2 separate regions of the Homo sapiens genome follow, and region 1 is linked to region 2. Evidence: promoter capture Hi-C in human tissues and cell types (Jung and others, 2019). All regions are on one chromosome and are shown on one strand. Each heading gives the region's core, a stretch centred on a gene start or on the middle of the fragment in contact. The rest is flanking DNA. Distances are from core to core; before and after follow the strand shown.

What was found. Contacts are between HindIII fragments. The study calls those that stand out against the background at their distance.
Region 1: a contact is called between a fragment that was not itself captured here and the fragment with the promoter of DACT3 in region 2, in 1 of the 25 tissues and cell types used here (dorsolateral prefrontal cortex).

What each region holds. Positions count from the first base shown.
Region 1 is chr19:46,966,863-46,969,562 of GRCh38, reverse strand. The region is part of intron 3 of ARHGAP35 (Rho GTPase activating protein 35); the gene reads right to left. Among named protein-coding and RNA genes, the nearest start is that of NPAS1, 52 kb to the left of the region's middle. The HindIII fragment of the contact is 4,877 bases long and covers 1-2,700 here.
Region 2 is chr19:46,659,748-46,662,447 of GRCh38, reverse strand. DACT3 (dishevelled binding antagonist of beta catenin 3) reads left to right here and starts at 1,266. Exons shown (of 4, transcript NM_145056.3): 1 at 1,266-1,632. The coding sequence starts at 1,384. DACT3-AS1 (DACT3 antisense RNA 1) reads right to left here and starts at 2,084. Exons shown (of 3, transcript NR_040042.1): 1 at 2,040-2,084. RefSeq lists silencers at 889-1,008, 1,219-1,468. The HindIII fragment of the contact is 5,076 bases long and covers 1-2,700 here.

The DNA of each region.
Region 1 (2,700 bases), core at 38-2,537, 310 kb before region 2:
AAGACACTAGTGCTGTCTCCCATCCCTGGTTGCTCCTGAGAGTGGAGCAGTGCCTCAAGCAGTCCGACAGAGTGTATGTGCCAGACAGGAGAAACCACCAGGCAGTGAGGAAGCTTTGTCAGAGCAGGTCTCTTCTCCAAGGACCCACCTCAAAAAGAACACAGGCCACTGCAGACTCAGTGAAAAATTTTAAGTAGCAAACCTGGAGTAAAACATCTATCCACCTATCCTCCGTTTATTATGATTATTATTTCACAACCGTTTTATTGAGATATAATTCACACAACATACAATTCACCCACTGTGAGAGTGTCCAATTCGATGGCTGTGAGCACATTCAGAGTTGCACAAGTATCACCACAATTTTAGAGCACTGTCATCAACACCCAAAAAACTGTATCCATGAGCAGCCACTCCAAATTTCTCCCTTCTCGCAGCCCCTGGCAACCACTCATCTACTTCTTTCTATTTTTTTTTTGAGACAGTCCTGCTCTCTGGCCCAGGCTGGAGTGCAGTGGTGCAACCTTGGCTCACTGCAACCTCTGCCTTCCAGGTTCAAGAGATTCTTCCGCCTCAGTCTCCTGAATAGCTGGGATTACAGGCACACACCACTACGCCCGGCTAATTTTTGTATTTTTAGTAGAGACAGGGTTTCATCATGTTGGCCAGGATGGTCTTGAACTCCCGACCTGAGATGATCTGCCTGCCTTGGCCTCCCAAAGTGCTGGGATTACAGGTGTGAGCCACTGCACCCGGCCCACTAATCTACTTTCTATCTTTATAGATTAGCCTATTCTAGATAATTCTGTGTAAATGAGATCATGGGCCATGTGATCTTGTGTGACTAGTTTACCTCACTTAGCGTAATGTTTTCAAGGTTCATCCATCTGTAGCACGTCACTACTTTGTTCCTTTTTACGGCCGAATAATATTCTACTGTATGAATATATTATATCTCGTTATCCATTCACTCATCAGTGGGATATTTGGGTTCTTACCATTTTGGGGCTATTATGAATAATGTGGCCTCCATATTATTTTGAACCCAAATTCTGAAGTGACCTACAGATATTTCCCCAAACTCAGGAAGGATGTGTGTGACACTTTGTGGCTGGCCTCCAGCCGAGGGACAGCAGGCTTCCCATTAGCCTTGCCGGTGGATTCCCTTGCTTTCTTCCCTCCTGCTCTGCTGACCCACAGCTCCTTCTGTCCAAGCCCATTTATTTAGATATCCCACCTAAATGTTTCACACGCATGCCCTATCAGCAACACACATGCTGTGCCCCTACACTAAACACTGGGCATTTGCTCCTGCCCAGATACTGCCACCTTGCTCAAGACCTTAGTGTTATATGAATCTTCTTCCTCCTCCCTTTCTATGTATACAATTCCACGTTTCCACCACTGAATGAAGCTTTTGAGGGGAGAGGTCTCTGGAGTGTTTCTGTGCCATTCAGTCATTCATCATCATTTACTAGAGCCCTGTATGCTTGGCTTGGAGGAGACAATGAAGATGACCCGGTCCCTTCCCTCAAGGAACTTAGGATCCATTGAGGAAGGAAGACAATCAGAGTACAGTGTGCTACGTGTTCACTGGGAAAGCACAGGGCGTGACAGACATGGCAGGGAGCCCTGGCTCACAGAGCAGGTCAGAGAAGGACTCCGGGCGTGACAGACACGGCAGGGAGCCCTGGCTCACAGAGCAGATCAGAGAAGGACTCTGGGAGGGAGTCTCGAAGTGGAACAGCAAGGAAAGGCAGTGCGGGTGAGAAATATAATGGCAGCTTAAGGAACTGTGCGTAGTTTTAATCTGTGGGCTGAAGTTTAGAGTGAATGAAGGAAATGGCAAGAGGCAGAGCTAGACAGTGGGCAGGGACCACATCCTGCTGGTAAGTAGTAGGATGAAACTTCATCCTAGAGTGATACAGAACCACTGATGAGTTTTAAGCAGGTGAAGATGAAGTGATCCCATTTATTTTGGAAAGATATTTGCAGCAGTGTGCATAAGGGACTGAAAGGACATGAGACCAGAAACAGGAAGGTCAATTACAAAGAGGCTACCACAGTAAACCAAGAAGAGGGTGAGAGACTAAACGCAGGGGCAGGGGCCAGGCTGAAAACACGCTTAGGTGGTAAAAACAATGGGACTGACTGATGAGGTTGACTGGTGTGGGAAGGTAACAAGGGAGAGACCCCCTCCCCATGGAGGACATGCTGTTGACTCAGGTCAGCAGATTCTCTGGGATGAAAACCTTCAAACCCTACCTTCCCGCAAATGGTAACGGTGAGGGCTGACAAGCTTTCTCAGGAGTGAGAAAATCCTTCTTCCAAATGAAATCTTAAACTGAACCTTAAGGCTGAAGGATCCAGAGTCCTGGTGGCCTGACCTTTCCCGTCCCCATGCAGAAGGACTCCCTTACAATTCTAGGGATCTGAGAAAAAAAAAAAAAATCTGAAAAGCCCAGGCCAAGTCCAATTGCTGGAGGCTGACGTTCAAAGGATTTTAGGGCAATATGGCTACGTGGTCAGCACGGCCTCTCACCTCTACACCTGACTCTCATTCAGTTGACTTTCCACACCTAGACTATTCCTCCCATCCTGTTAGAGAATCCAGTGTATCTTTAAGGACAAGCCTCCATCCCAGACTCCAAGCAAGCAAGCTCCCTGACTTCTGCAGCACTAACCCCTGCAGCCTCATGG
Region 2 (2,700 bases), core at 17-2,516:
TGTGACTCACCCCGAGGAAGTCTGGCTCCTGGAGACTTTGCTGTCTATCGCCACTATCAATTTCTCTCCATCTCACCACCAGAAGGTCACTTCGTGCACGGGGAATCATAAAAGAGGGAATTTCTTGTATGATCTTCTGGGCCTTGGCTTTTAGGGAGCCAAGGTCTGTCTGAGAGATGAGTATGAATATTAGAGCTAGGTCTTGGAAGTTGGTAGAGGCAGGCTCGGCGTAGTGATACAGATTGGCCGCCTGAGGGTGCCCCAGCCCTGCTTGCGGAGCCTGGAGAGACAGCAGGAAGCCTTGGAAACGAATGTCAGGCTCAGACTCCTAGGACCAGAGAACGTTGAGAATAGAGCATCATAGAAGGCTGAGAACAAAGCCCCTTAGAACGTAGAACAAAGGCCCCTGGAATGGAAGAATGATGAGCACACATCCTCCTAGCACCTGGGAGACAAAAGCTGCTTAGACTCTCTTCTGGTCAAAGCATAGAATCTTCCACCCAGGGTCTTATAATTCCAGAATTTGGAATGCAATCGATCTTAGACTCTTAGCAGCAAGACCGGCTACATATTTGGCCTAGTGCAAAGTGAAAATAAGGGGCCCCTTGCTCAAAAACTAAAAATTTCAAGACAGAAATTGCAGAACATTCAACCAAGCGCGAAGACCCTTCTAAGTGGATTCCAAGCCGGTGAAGCCGGCCCTAAGTAGAAACAATTTCATCGGAGGACGTCCGTCTGGTTTTACAGCTGAGTGTCTGGGAAGGCTTCTTGGAAGAGGAGGCGAAGTCAGGGCTCGACCCCCTAACCCTTTTCTCCCCCTGCGCAGCCTCAGAAGCTGAAGGTTGGGCGGGGTGGAGGGGTAGGAGCAGCTGCCAAACTGTCACGTGTACCCATTCCCTATTTATAGATCACCCTTCCCCTCGCGCCGGACAGTCCAATGGTAGCCAGCGCTCGCCCGCAAGAGGGTGGAACCTGCTGCAGGACCGGCCAGGCACAGACCAATGGCATTGAAGCAAGGGCGGGCTTGTTTCATTGTGACGCGTGGGGGGGCGTGGCCAGGGCCCCGAGGCAGTTGCACGGAGGGGGCGTGGCGAGCGGAGTGAGTAGGCAGTTGCGAGCATGCGTCGTGTTGGGCGGTGCGGTTGCACGCCCGAGAGTCTTCGTCAGGAAGCTTATTCGCCAATAGGCGGCTGTTGCTCGGTCGCCGGGGGCGTGGCCATGCAGATAAGGCGCGGGTGGGCGGCCCAATGGGCGGGCGCCTATGCAGATGAGACGGTGACAGCCCGGCCAGCGGGCGGGCGGGCAGGCTGCTGGGGCGGGGAGGTGGGACCGGGAGAGGGGTGGCCGCGGGGCCCGGCCGGGCTGGGGCGGGGGGCCGCAGCCATGATCCGGGCCTTCTCGTTCCCGGTGAGCCCTGAGCGGGGCCGGCTGCGGGGCTGGCTGGAGGGTAGCCTGGCCGGGCTCTGCGAGTTACATTGGCTCCGGGAGAGGCAGGAGTACCGCGTGCAGCAGGCGCTGCGGCTGGCCCAGCCCGGAATGGGGGGCGCCGAGGCCGAGGACGAGGAGGACGCCGATGAGGATGAAGATGCGGCGGCGGCGCGCCGGGCCGCAGCGGCCCTGGAGGAGCAGCTGGTAAGGGGCTGCCTGTCCGTCCGTCCCTCCACCCCCGTCTGTGTCTGTCTGTCTCGGTTGGATGCTCAGACACCGGGCGGGGGTTGGGGACCCGGGTAGGCAGGGAGTGAGAAAGGACAGGGGGTGGGGCTGGCGACCCCGGAGTTCCGGCGGCGGGCCGGACCTGGCCTCCCCGCCCCCAAATCGGGGGAGGGGGAACTGCATCGCCCCCACTGGGGCCTCGTGAGAAACACAGGCCCTGTCTCTTACACCCCTTCCCCAAAGAAAATCCTTGTGGGCGCCAAGTATGTGTCAAACCCGAGACCGGGTACTTTGCAGGCGTTGTCTTCTTGCGGCTTGGGAAACGGGGTGATAGTCCCCATTTAACAGAGAAACAAATTGAGGCTCAGAGAGAGCAAGCGACTCACCCAAGGTGACACAGCCAGGCTCCAAACATGCCCTTCTCTGGGCCCCGCCACCAGGGCTCCATCTTCCCTAAGTCCTGGTGTGCTTGGAGATCTCTGGAGGGGGCGGGGTGGGAGGAGGGGAATCTCAGGGCCTCCAGAGGGAGGGACCACTGCTGAGAGGAAGCTCACAGTCCCTGAGGACCCCCCACTGGGATCTTGACCCTTTGGTGACACTTCCCCTGCTTCCTACCTGGCCCCAGCTCTCCTTGACCCAAGGGGAGGCAGGTCGAGGCAGCGCCTGGGGGAGACTTCTGGACTCTGGGTGTTCTCATGGTGGAAGATGGGCAGAGGTCTCCGGAATGACTTGAGGACGCCCCATGCCTCTCCCCTTTCTATGTCATTCCTTGAGTCTCCCGATCTCGTCCTGGGTTCTGTCACTCTCTCCGTCCTGCCACATCCCTGTGACTTTCTGTGTCTGCTTCTCTTTCTTCATCCTGTCTCTCTGTCTCTGTGATCTCTGTGTCCCTCTGCATCTGTCTCCTTGGCCTTCCCTTCCTGCCTGTCTGCACCTCGCTCTCTTCTTCTTGCCCGACGTCCCAGGCTCAGTCTGTCTTCCCCTCCCCCCAGCCCGCACACCCTGGCTCCACGGCAGATCCCCATCCCCAAGCCTGTGTGTGGCCAG